Regions from separate parts of the Homo sapiens genome. Here all the other regions are linked to region 1. The links are contacts of gene promoters, found by promoter capture Hi-C in blood cells and fetal thymus (Javierre and others, 2016). All regions are on one chromosome and are shown on one strand. Each heading gives the region's core, a stretch centred on a gene start or on the middle of the fragment in contact. The rest is flanking DNA. Distances are from core to core; before and after follow the strand shown. Region 1 holds the start of BNIP1 (BCL2 interacting protein 1). Region 2 has its middle 51 kb from the start of DUSP1. Region 3 holds the start of LOC101928093 (a long non-coding RNA gene).

Region 1 (4,381 bases), core at 952-3,451:
TTACCTCTGCAACACAAGCAAAAACATTATCATTTACATTTTTCTCATTCCTTTTTAGATTAATGTTGAATTAATATAAAAGCCTAGAAAGAAACACAACTGCTTTGACCTAATTTTTAGTGCCTAAATTTTAACAAAACATTACCTGGCCAGTAGGAAACAGCTTAAAACAGCTTGTATGCCCAACAAGAATGGACATGCAAAAGTGATACTATCACTTTAGAACCTTAGATCCTTCCAACTTGGAAGATCAGGATGTTTAAATATCTGGCATCATATGATGAGATTAACTTCTCCAGTGTGATTTTACAAACCATTAGTGATAAGTTAGAGTGTTTATATAGACATGTTTAAGGGCAGATTTAGAATCTGTTGCTGGACATTCAGAATTACTGGTGCCAGCTTTCACGGCAGGCTCTGGAGACAGACCAGGTGGATTCGAATCCTGGCTGTAGCAACTTATGAGCTGTGTAAAGTTACCTGGAAAGTTATTTAAATTCTCTGTGTCTGAGTTTCCTTATCACAACACTACTTACCTCATAGAACATCATAGATTATGTATGTATGTAAAGCACTTAGCAGAGCTGCTGGAAAACGGTAAGAACGCAATACATCCAGCTATAATCAGTCTTTCTCATCAGCAATGACAAGAACCCAAATGTTAGAAAGAGTACAGAAGAATGCCTAAGCAATTTAGATTATGTGAAAATGTAATTTCATTTGTATGAAACCTGTTTATTTTTCTATAATTGGCCCAGAAGTTTTGTAATGTATACATCAGAGAAGTGAAGTTCAAGAAGTTTTAAATATCTGCATCAAATTTCACTTTTTCTCTGGCTTATTCATTTAATCACACTTCTTTGCACCGTATTTGTTTATTCTGCATCTAATTTGGTTTATTCTGCATCTGGTTTATCTGGGGAGCCCTATTTTCCTGCACTTTTTGCCACACCTTGTTACAAACTCTGAGTCTACATCTAATGTTTAGTGACTTTGTTGAAAATGATTATTTTTAAAAACCAAGGTTTAGGCCGGGCGCGGTGGCTCACGCCTGTAATCCCAGCAATTTGGGAGGCCGAGGCGGGCGGATCACGAGGTCAGGAGATCGAGACCATCCTGGCTAACACGGTGAAACCCCGTCTCTACTAAGCAAAACACAAAAATTAGCCGGGCGTGGTGGCGGGTGCCTGTAGTCCCAGCTACTCAGGAGGCTGAGGCAGGAGAATGGCGGGAACCCGGGAGGCGGAGCTTGCCGCGAGTCGAGATCGCGCCACTGCACTCCAGCCTGGGCGACAGAGCGAGACTCCGTCTCAAAAAAACAAAAACAAACAAGCAAAAACAAGGTTTAAAACTCGGTTTCTTTTTGCTGAACTCATGGAACCGTGTCTACACTCCCAATTCTTGCCTAAGTCCACTCGTTTATTTTACCTCTACCCTTAAATGGCTTAAGGCGAAACACTTCATTTCCTATCTGTTCAAACGGGGTAACACTCTAAGGTGTTATTCCTAGGTTGACTTTCACAGTCCAGGTCCCAGTTTTGCCACTGACCCAGGTATGCCTTCTAACCTAGGCCTTGGCGCCGTACTCGATTTCCTCAAGCATAAAATCACAACTACGGTCCAGGTTACATTCGTTTCACCCGGTGCCTCCCGTGCCAGGTGGCCTTGGATGCCAGGAGAGCTGGCCAGCAGGGGGCGGGGCTAGCTGCCTCCCGGACGCTACCAGAGGATGCTGAAGCAGCGTCAGAGGGCGGGGCCAAGCAGGGTGACAGGTAGGTTGTGAGGTAGTCAGGGGCGGGGCGACGACCAGGGCTGCAGGTGGAAGGGGCAAAGCCGAGCCCCGAAGCAGTAGCTGAGTCAGGGGCGGAGAACAGTGGGGTGCTCTGGGGATGGGAGATCCGGCGGCACCCGGAAAAAGGATCAAGGCCAGCAGTCACCGGGACACAACCAAATGGGGACCGGGGGGGTAGCCGACCATGGGGCGGAGCCTGTGGTCTGGGAAACCAAGTGGGGAAAGTTCGGGAGTGACACTGCCAAGCTCACAGACCAGCAGAGCTTGGGTTAGGGCTGCTGGAGCCCGGCAGGGGTCCCGGGATCAGTACCTGAATAAGCGCCTTCACCTCCAGGTCAAATTTGACAATCTCTTGGTTACAGATCCGGACGTGGACGTCTTGGGGAGCCGCCATGTTGGGGACGCCGGCTACGGGCAGCGGCAGGACCCAAGTTCAAACGCGTTTTCGCACCACCTTCTTTCCCTCCCCACCCAGTCTCGGGGCAGCGCCCCCTAGAGACCGGCGAAAATGGCAAGCGAGGGTCACTGCGCAGAGTTGGGACTTTCCCTGACACGTGTAGGGAAATCAGCCTCTCCTCTTGGTATGGCCCTAATAACATGGAGAGGAAGGGAAGAGGGAATATCAAGAACGCTTCACAGTGGTCTCTTTCCATCTTCCTTCTGTCAGGCATTCTAATAACTATATATTTTTTACATAGAAAAAAAAAGACTGGAAGAAAAGTATCAATTGAGATGTCTCTGGAAAGTACCAGTAATAATTTTTTGTTTCTTCAAACTTTCTTATATTTTTAATATTTTCTACAGTGAGTATAAATTGTGGAGTAAAAGAGGAAATGATAAACGTCATATATTTTTTAAAGTATGGAGTTCAAGGCAGGTCGGTAGAGTACCTCCTATCACTCCAACACATGATCTAAGGGATCTTTGTAAAACACGAAATTGATCAAGTCACCTACCTGTATGCAGCCCTTCTATGGCTTCTCGTGTTTCCCTTTTGTATACAACTGGATTTATTAAATCTACCTTGCTAAGGTAGTTTTGATGGAAATGTCAGAGCAAACCCTCAACAAATGGTGGCTCTTTTATTTTTGTTAGTAAATAATCCAAGTTTCTTAGCTGGTCCTCAAGGCCATCAGCCACCCCGGCCATCAGCCACCGCACCCTGCGCCCTTCCTGGATTGCTCAAGCTCCTTCTGGATGTGTAGCCTTAGAATGTGGTGTTCCCTCTCCCTAGAAAGCGTTTCCCCCACTCGACCCCACTCCATCTGCATTTGTTCGGGTCACTTCAGCAAGCATAGATTGTGAGGACCTAAAGGCTTAGGACTTGAATGTTCATCTCTCTCTCTTTTTTTTTTTTTTTTTTTGTGGCGGAGTCTCGCTCTGTTGCCCAGGCTGGAGTGCAATGGCACAATCTTGGCTCACTGCAAACTCTACCTCCCAGGTTCAAGCAATTCTCCTGCCTCAGCCTCCTGAGTAGCTGGGATTACAGGTGCGTGCCACCATGCCCAGCTAATTTTTGTATTTTTCATAGACACGGGGTTCACCATATTGGTCAGGTTGGTCTCGAACTGACCTCGTGATCCACCCGCCTCGGCCTCCCAAAGTGCTGGGATTACAGGCGTGAGCCACTGTGCCCGACCATGTTCATCTCTCTTAATCCTCACAACCACCCTTGAAATTGTACTACACTATTATCACAGATCAGGAGTAGGGCTTAGAGTAAATTAAAACAAAAAACAATCAACCCTGTTGCAAGATTACCTATCTTGAAAGTGGCAAAGCCTAGGCCGGGCACGGTGGCTCATGCCTGTAATCCCAGCACTTTGGGAGGCCGAGGCGGGTGGATCACGAGGTCAAGAGATCGAGATCATCCTGGCTAACACGGTGAAACCCCGTCTCTACTAAAAATATAAAAATTAGCCGGGCGTGGTGGCGGACGCCTGTAGTCCCCGCTACTTGGGAGGCTGAGGCAGGAGAATGATGTGAACCCAGGAGGTGGAGCTTGCAGTGAGCCGAGATCGCCCCACTGTACTACTCCAGCCTGGGCGACAGAGCAAGACTCCATCTCAAAAAAAAAAAAAAAAAAAGAAAAAAGAAAGAAAGAAAGTGGCACAGCCTCTACTGAAAGCCATCTTTTCCCCAAAAAATCAATATGGTCCCCACCTGTTGTAAGCGGGGCTATGTGCTTGTCTGTGTCCCTACAGCCCTCTACACACCCTCTCGTAAGGTATTCATCACCCCACTGCACCTAATAGAGAGGCAGTGTATCACAGGCTTGGCATCTGCCTGGGCTCAAATCCTGTCCACCACACACTTCGCATGCCTGTGCCTCTGTCTCCTCGGAAGCTAACTGGTGATAATCAATTGCGCCTACTTCACAGGTTGGAGAATTAAATGAGAAAATACATGAAAAGCACCAAGCACAGTGTGCTAATGTGGCATATAGTAAGATCTCAATGCCCGTTAGCTGCTGTTATTCTACTACTAGCCCACATTTTGGGAGCACTTCCTATGTGCCAGGAACTTTGTACTAAGCGCTTCATGTGTGTCTCGCTTAACTCTTACAACAACTCTGTGAGGTAAAAACGG
Region 2 (4,381 bases), core at 758-3,257, 420 kb after region 1:
CTGTGGCTCTGCCCATCTCGATGTTGAACAATGTCCTGACCTAAAAAATGCCAGGGGCTGGGGGTGTGGATGGGGGGATGCAAATGCTGGTGGTGCCGCTGGGCGCTTCCTCTGCTTTGGGCTTTCACAAAATACGGGTTGCACACTGCTGGCTCCAGGAAAGATGCTTTTATATACTCTCGGCGTTAAGGACATCAGTAAATCCCGCAGTGAGAAATTTGTTTTTTCTGGCTGTCCTTCCATTTTCTGATTGCTTCAAGGAGAAAGTCTCAGCTTGTGCTACTCTGGTTTTAACGCCTCTTTACCACTTGCTGATCTAACAGATAGCGTGACAGATAGCGGTCCCAGCACAGAGCCTGCAGGAGGCGGCCACCTTGAGACAGAAGAGGTGACCTTGTTTTATTTATCTGTCTTGTTTCTTGGAGCCAGGCTGCCTTGTTTCAAATCATAATGCTGCTGCATTCCAGCTGTGACCTTGTGCAAGTTACTTAAGATCCCCGTGCCTCAGTTTTCCCCTCTGTATAACTGAGATACAGTGGTGCCCATCTCATAAGGTTTTCATGGGGATGAATGAGTTAATGTTTGTAATGTGCTTAGCAGAGTGCCTGGCACATGGTAAGCACTTGTTATATTCATTTTTGTGTTGATGGGAAATGATTCCACTTTTCCATTCGGGGTGGTGATGCAACGTTTCCTTTTAAGATACATTTAGTTCAGTGAGCCAATTAAAAACAAATATTAAGTTTGAAAACAAGTGCTCTGCAGATTTAGCAAAAATCATCAAAGCGCGCTGGAACTGACTGAGTTTGGAAAATAACGCTCTGGCGTTCATTGAACCGGTTCCAATAGCTTTAGCTTTGCGCTATAGCCATTCATAAAATGCTTTATAAAGATTTGATTTATTTGAAGTTTTGTAACAACTCTGGGAGGTAGGAATGATGATTGTCCCTGTTCTTCGGATGAGGGGATTGAGGCACAGAGAGGTCAGTTAACTGGCCCCAAGTTGCACAGCCGGGAGGTGACCTTGGGCCACCTGGCTCCAGAGTTTGTGCCCTTGGCCACGTGGCCAGGCAGGCCCCTTTTGCAGAAGAGAACACTTGAGGTGTCAAGGGACACCAGTGAGTCTGGGACGGATGAGGGGCTGAGTATGAGGATGTGCCCAGTGCTGCTGAGATGGACTCCAAGTCCGGGTGAGATACAGGCCCTTCTTGTCCCCTGAATGGCTCACCTCGCCCCGTTGGGACAAACGTGCTCTCCTTTCTCACAAACAACAAGAAATATTTCTCATGTGACATTTCTCATAGGCTAGACCACTGCTCCTTTGTGGAGAAATGTGGGCTAGCCTGAGAACCTCAGGAACCAAGAAGGTGGGACCCTGGGACCCACCCCTGGGCCCCTCCCACTGGGCTAGCCTCTTAAACTCTGTCTCCCTGAGTCTTCACAACCACTCTGTGATGGAAACACAACTCTTCCATTTTACAGGTGGGGAAACCGAGGCCTGGAGAGGTGGAGTGACTTGCCCACGGTGACAGAAGAGGCAGGGTCAAAGTTTGAACTCAGGAGCTGGGGACACTTGTTGGCTGCCTACCCAGCAGCCATTCCTTCTAACAATCCCCAGATCTCCTTCTAAGTACCTACCACCACCCCCCGACCACAGCCAGCATGCTTGGAGGGGAGCCCCCTCAACTCCAAGGAGGGCTCTGATGGGCTGGAACCAGATAATGCCTCCCATTCCCTTGGCCACAGGCATTGGTTCAGGGGTAGTCGTGTGACCCAAGACTGTCCAATGAGAACAACTGCCCAATGGACTCCTGGATGGATATTGGAATATGTCCCCTCCTATAGCGGAATGAGAAGCATGTGCCATGCGCTCAGGGTAACACTGACTTGGGAACCTATGAAGAGGACAGAGGTCCTCGAAAGCTTCACCCAGCTCCTTGACAGCCTGCACCACTCTGAAGATTCAGCTCTGCTCACACCAGCCAACAAGCTCCCTTGTTATCTAAGTCAGGTGGAGGCTTGGAGTTGGGTTTCCTTTCCTGCAGCTAGAAACGTTCTGAAACTGCAGTACTTCTGGATTCCAAAGCTTGAGTCCTTTCCCTAGCATAAGGTGCTTCTCTGCATATCCATATTCCAAAAGTCGAACACTTTGGCACCATTTTCCTCTATGTTTTGAGTTCCAGACACCAGGTTTACAAAGGATTGCTGCATGACAACTTTGCTTGAGGTGAGGACCCTTCCCAGCATGTTTCCTTGCTGCCCCAAGTTTAAAAATAATTACATGCATGAAAGAACACTTCACAGACTGTAAGGTGCTCTCTACCTTCCCTCCCTCCCTTCCACAAATAATAACTAGCTGCTGTGCCAGGCATTACAGATACGGAGGTGAATAAGTCCCAAAGCTCATTCTCTTGGAATTCACAGTCCAGCTGGGGAGGCAGACTAGTAACCAGCTAATTATCGCCTATGGTAATTGTCTTGATGGTAGAGTTCAGCATAGCATGTAATTGGGGCAGAAAGGAGTGGGACTACCTTGCCCCGCCTAAACGTAAGTGGGTGGATCAGAGACAGTTGAGGCCAGAGCTACACCTTGAAGACACCGTAGGAACTACTGGAGTGAAGAAGGTTGGTAAGGTGTCCCTAACAGAGGGCTCAGCCTGTGTAAATGTGTGTGGGCCTTAGAAAGCACATATGGTCTGTTTGTTCAGGAAAACGTAAGCATGTCAGGATGGTGGAGGGCAGGGTGCAGAGAGTGGAAGGTGGAGGCACAAGGTTGGAGAAGTCTGCGGGGCAGGGGATGAAGGAACCAGAAGGCCAAGCCAGTGTCTGGGACAGGATCCCGCACCACTGGGGAGCCACCTAAGGATTCCAAAAAACAGCGTGACACAGTCAGATTGCATTTGGGGAAGGGCACTCAGGGCACTCGAGACATAGCTTGGAGCGGCAGGTCTGAGTCTACACCTGAGGACCCTTGAGTCCGGCCTGACAGTCCCGTACCCCAAGCCTCTGGCCCCTCCAGAACCATTTGACCCCACCAACTCCCACCCAAGCCAACTGTGAGCCATTTTCTGACTGGGTGGTCTTGGACAAGTCACTTCCCCTCTGGAAGCATCTGTTTCTCCATCTGCACCATGAGTAGAGTCCCACTGGCTTCAAGGACCATGGTTGGAAGCTCAGTCATGGCACCACAAGTGAGAGTCCTTCATGCCTATACAGAGCCGTGTTCATGCATGAGGTGGGTGTTTGCGCCCAGTTTCTCAAACTCCCATGGCTCCTGGCTGAGTCAGAGCCTTGACGTGCTTTGCTGCCCTGGTCCCAGCTTCAGGGACTACACCCTCTCCCTGTTCTTTACAAGAGATGCTCCAGGTCACGTCTTGGGGTTTACTCATCATTGCTCTGTGCACATTAGATGTTGCCAGAATTTGCTGATGGCCCATCCCCAGCACTGGCACCTAACCCCTTTTCCCCACCATAGCCCCACACTGGAGGACTTATTTACCTGGGTCACTGCTGCCATCTTTTATTCTGACCTCCTTCCTGTGGGTCAAAAAGCAAACACAGGCTTAGGTCAAGTAGTCTTTCAAACATCCATCCATCCATCCATCCATCCATCCATCCATCCATCCATCCACCCTGTCCAACCATCCATCCATGCATCCATCCTGTCCATCCACCCACCCATGCATCCATGCATCTATTCATCTATCCATCCATCCATCCTATCCAATCCATCCATCCTATCCATCCATCCATCCAATCCATCCATCCATCCATCCTGTCCATCCATCCATCCCTCGTGTCCATCCATCCATTCATCCATCCATGCATCCATCCATCTATTCATCCATTCATCCATCCTATCCATCCATCCAATCCATCCATACATCCATCCATCCATCCATACATACATACATCCATGCATCCATCCATCTGTTCATCCATCCATCCAATCCATCCATCCATCCATCCATCCATCTACCCATCCATCCATCCATCCATACATCCATGCATCCATCCATCTATTCATACATCCATCCTGTCCATCCATCCATCCATCCCATCCATCCATCCATCCATCCATCCACTAATCTTCCTTCCACCCATTCGTCATTCATCCATTTGTCCACCATCATCATCCATCCATTCGACTTCTATCCATCCACCCATCCATTCATCTATCTGTCTTTCCATCCATCCATCCATCCACCTATCTTCACTGAGCCCCTTCTCCATGCACACACTGTGCTCAGCTGTGAGGAGAGGGGGATGAAGATGGGTCTGTGCCTGCTCTCATGAGTGGTGTGCTTGTTCAGAATGGTGTAAGCACATCTGTGTGGTGAAGGGTAGGGTGAAAGGTTAGGGGGGTTGAGGCAGGAGGCTG
Region 3 (4,381 bases), core at 1,140-3,639, 390 kb after region 1:
AGCATTTCCTTGCTGTGTGACTCTCAGCAAGTTACATCACCTCTCTGGGCTTCAGATTCCTACTTATCTGCTTTATTTTTTGAGACAGGTCTCACCCAGTATTTGCTTTACATATGTGACTGATTTAGTACATCCATCTAGCCTGCTTGGTGGGCTTATTATTATTGCCACGTTTAGCAAACCATTGATAGAGTTTGGATGTTTTGTCCCCTCCAAATCTCACCTTGAAATGTGACCTCCAGTATTGGAGGTGGGGACTAGTGGGAGGTGTTTGGGCCATGGGGGTGGGTTCGTCCCTCATGAATGGCTTGGTGCTGTCCTCGGGGTAATGAGTGAGTTCTTTTTTTTTTTTTTGAGACAGAGTCTCGCTCTGTCACCCAGGCTGGACAGTGCAATGGCTTGATCTCGGCTCACTGCAAACTCCGCCTACTGGGTTCAAGTGATTCTCCTGCCCCAGCCTCCTGAGTAGCTGGGATTACAGGCACCCACCACCACATCGGGCTAATTTTTGTATTTTTAGTAGAGACAGGGTTTCACCATGTTGGCCAAGCTGGTCTTGAACTCCTAACCTCAAGTGATCCGCCTGCCTCGGCCTCCCAAAGTGCTGGGATTACAGGCATGAGCCACTGTGCCCAGCCAAGTGAGTTCTGACTACGAGTTCACGTGTGATCTGGCTGTTTATTTATTTATTTATATATTTTTTAAGATGGAGTCTCACTCTATTGCCCAGGCTGGAGTGCAGTGGCATGATCTCGGCTCACTGCAATCTCTGCCTCCTGGGTTCTAGCAATTCTCCTGCCTCAGCCTCTCCAGTAGCTGGGATTATAGGCAACTGCCACCATGCCAGGCTAATTTTTGTATATTTAGTACCGACGGGATTTCACCATGTTGGCCAGGCTGGTCTTGAACTCCTGACCCCAAGTGATCTGCCTGCCTTGGCCTCCTTAAGTGCTGGGATTATAGGTATGAGCCACTGCACCTGCCGAGATCTGGCTATTTAAAAGAGCCTGGCCCTTCCTCCCTCTCCCTCTTGTACCCTCTCACCATTTGATACACAGGCTCCTTCCTTTAGCTTCCACCATGACTAGAAGCTTCCAGAGGACTCACCAGAAGCTGAGCAGATGCTGGCACCATGCTGCCTGTACAGCCTGCAGAGCTGTGGGCCAAATAAACCTCTTTTCTTTATAAATTACCCAGTCTTGGGTATCCCTTTATAGCAATGCAAAACAAACTAATACACCATGTCACCTGGAGGGAGTAGCTGAGGCCTGGAGAAGGAGAGGACTTACCCACAGCTCAGGTTTAACACAGTGTGTGGTCCAAGACCTAAGCCTGGCAGGGCCTTCCACTGTACCAGGCAAGACAAGGGTGAATCCCACCCTCACTCAGGGGCCTAACATCCCCTTTAAGGTTGGGGAAAGTAGGAAGTACCAAGGATGGCACTAAATGAGAAGCTCCCCCAAGGACTCCTAGAATAAAGGTTCATGTGTCCTGTGTCCTCAGCACTTGATAGACCACTTACAGACCATTGTGACAGACCATTGTGATGCTGACTATGTAGAGATTCACAGACCACTGTGACACTGACTATGTAGAGCAGAAAGGCTGGTTGTTCCCCAGGCTCTAGTCTTCCTTAGTAATAGGCTTTTGGCCAGGTATATGTCCACATTCCCCAGCCTCTCTTACAGCCAGACATAGCTGTTTGAATGTCAAACCTAATGTGTGTGCAACTTCCAGGGAGTGTCCTTAAAGAGAGGGCTGATACATTTCTTCCCTGTTTTGTCCTTCCTGTGGTCTGGAATACAGAGTGATGGCTGGAGCTGAGGCAGCCATTTTTAGCCATGAAGTGATGTCGGGAATGACGGCAGAGCAGAAAGACAGAGGGAGTCTCCTTCCCTTAGGACTGTTGAGGGGCAATTCTCCATGGCATTCTTATACCTCTTGTGACACCTTTTGCGTGGAACCATCTTTTCAGGATGTTTATATGACAAATAGCCTGGGGGAGCAGGAATAGTGTCTCACTCTGGAGCAGAGGACAGATTTATTTCCTGACCAGGATTATAAAGATAATGCCTTTCTCCAGGTTGAATGTTGACCGGGTTCGTTAGCAGCCTCTTATGCTTATAAGATTAGGAGTTTCCTAAGCTCAGTATATCTCAGCTCTGACATGAGCCCTGTGTGCACAGGATCCACCTGGGCCTCCTGCTCCAGCCCCATGGAACTTAGGAGGCAAGTAAACCAGAGCAAAGATAAAGCTTGAGCTGCCTACTGTGTTGTGAGTAATAAAGTCCTTTGTCTCTGACCTAAGAGTCCTGAGTCTTCTGCTGGCATCTGTGCAATTGTGGTAAGCTCGTTGTTAGTTTGCAAGTAGGAGAAAAGAAATCTCAGACCCTTCATATGTCTGACAAGGACTTCATGGAGCAGAGCACTATCATTAGCTCTGGTGCACTTTTTAAAGTTTTCCTTTTTCTAACTTCATTGAGATAATATTTATTTTAATAACTATATCTCACTTAAGCTTACAATTTAATATATTCTGACAGATTTATACAGTTTTGTATATTTTTAAATTTCAACAATTGTTTGCAGACTGTATTATACCTACCAATACATTCAAGATATGGAACATATCCGTGGTCAAAAATTCCTTTGTGCTCCTTCCCAATCAGTCCGTAACCTCCCCACCTTAGCCAACTAGCATTATGCTTTCTGTCACTGTAGACTAAAGTTGTGATTTCTAGAGTTTTCTATAAGTGGAATTATATAGTATTCCTTTATTGTGTCTATTTCAATTAGCATGCTTTTTGAGATTAATCCATGTTTTCGTGTGCATCATTGGCTCTTTTTAAAAAAATTTTTTCAATGGACTCCATTTCTTAGAGCAGTTTTAGGCTCATGGCAAAATTGAGCAGAAGGTACAGAGATTTCGCATATACTCCCGTCCTCACATACACATAGACTTCTCCACTGTCAACATTCCCCACCAGAGCGAGTGGTGCATTTGTTACAGTCTGTTAACGACACTGACACATCAGTATCACCCAAAGTCCATAGTTTACATTAGGATTCGCCCTTGGTATTGGACATTCTGTGGGTTTGGACAAATGTCTAGTGATAGGTATCCCCAATTGTAGTATCGTACAGAGGAGTTTCACTGCCTTCAAAATCCTCTATACTCTGCGTATTCAGCCCTCCCTCCCCATAACTCCTGGCAACCACTGATCTTTTCACTGTCTCCGTAGTTTTGCCTTTTTCAGAATGTCATATGGTATGTAGCCTTTTCAGATCAATGTGTTTCACTTAGTAATATGCATTTGAGATTCATCCATGTCTCTTCTATGGCTTTGATAGCTCATTTCTTTTTAACACAGAATAATATTTCATTCTCTGGATGTATTACAGTTTATTCACTTACCTGCTGAAGGACATCATGCTTGCTTCCAAGTTTTGGCAATTGTGAGTTTGGATGCTATAAACATCCACATGCAGGTTTTTGTGTGGAAATATTTTCAATTCCTTTAGGTAAATGCCAAGGAGCACAATTGCTAGGTTGCATGGCAAGAGTATGTTTAGTTTTGTAAGAAGCTGTCAAACTGTCTTCCAAAGTGGCTGTAGCATTTTTCATTTTCACCAGCCCTGGATGAGACTTCCTATTGCCCCACATCCTCTCCAGCATTTGGTGGCATCCGAGTTTTGGATTTTGGCCATTTAACTAGGTGTGTAGTGGTGTCTCACTGTTGCTTTAATTTGAATTTCTCTGATGACACATGATGCTGAGCATTTTTTCACAGGCTCGCTTGCCATCTGTGTATCTTGTTTGTAAGGTATCTAAGGTATCTTTTATTCATTTTTAAAGTGGGTTGTTTCCATACTGTTGAATTTTAAGAGCTCTATGTGTATTTTGGATGACAGCTCTTTATCAGATATATCTTTTGCAAATATTTTCTCCCAACCTGAGGCTTGTCTTCTCATTCTCTTAAATCTGGTGGGCTTTTTGTGTGTGTGAGCAAACTATATTTTTATCTTTCTGTGTTGTTTAAGCTACTGTAATGCTGGGCTTTTATTGGAAATGAACCTAATTCTAATACATGAAGTCATATTTCTGCTTAGAACCTTCCAGTGGCTTACCATCTTATCCAGGATAAAGCCCAACTCTTTCTGTGTCCTCCATAGGCCCAGCTAGTCTGGGTCCCTGGCAGAGTGGTTAAGAGCAAGGCCTGTGGTTGAAATTCTAGTGGTGTTGCTTCCGACGTCTGTGACCTTGGGTGTTATTTAACTTCTCAGTGTCTCAGGTTCTTCACCTGTAAAATGGATTAGTAATAGAATATAGCTCATCAGGTTGTGGAGAGAGCCAAATGAGTTACTGTAGTAAGCACAGGGT

Evidence for each region. Contacts are between HindIII fragments. The CHiCAGO score rates a contact against its expected background, and 5 or more counts as called.
Region 2: a contact is called between a fragment that was not itself captured here and the fragment with the promoter of BNIP1 in region 1, in 3 of 17 cell types (fetal thymus, naive B cells and total CD8 T cells). The highest score is 7.3, in fetal thymus.
Region 3: a fragment that was not itself captured here is called in contact with the fragment with the promoter of BNIP1 in region 1 in 1 of 17 cell types (total B cells); the score reaches 5.4 in total B cells.

What each region holds. Positions count from the first base shown.
Region 1 is chr5:173,142,351-173,146,731 of GRCh38, reverse strand. It overlaps BNIP1 (BCL2 interacting protein 1), which reads right to left and starts at 2,201. Exons shown (of 6, transcript NM_001205.3): 1 at 2,103-2,201. The coding sequence starts at 2,186. RefSeq lists enhancers at 1,469-1,538, 1,480-2,008. The HindIII fragment of the contact is 7,780 bases long and covers 1-4,381 here.
Region 2 is chr5:172,718,338-172,722,718 of GRCh38, reverse strand. No RefSeq gene overlaps it. Among named protein-coding and RNA genes, the nearest start is that of DUSP1, 51 kb to the left of the region's middle. The HindIII fragment of the contact is 163 bases long and covers 1,926-2,088 here.
Region 3 is chr5:172,752,608-172,756,988 of GRCh38, reverse strand. LOC101928093 (a long non-coding RNA gene) reads right to left here and starts at 1,486. Exons shown (of 4, transcript NR_161233.1): 1 at 1,290-1,486. The HindIII fragment of the contact is 263 bases long and covers 2,258-2,520 here.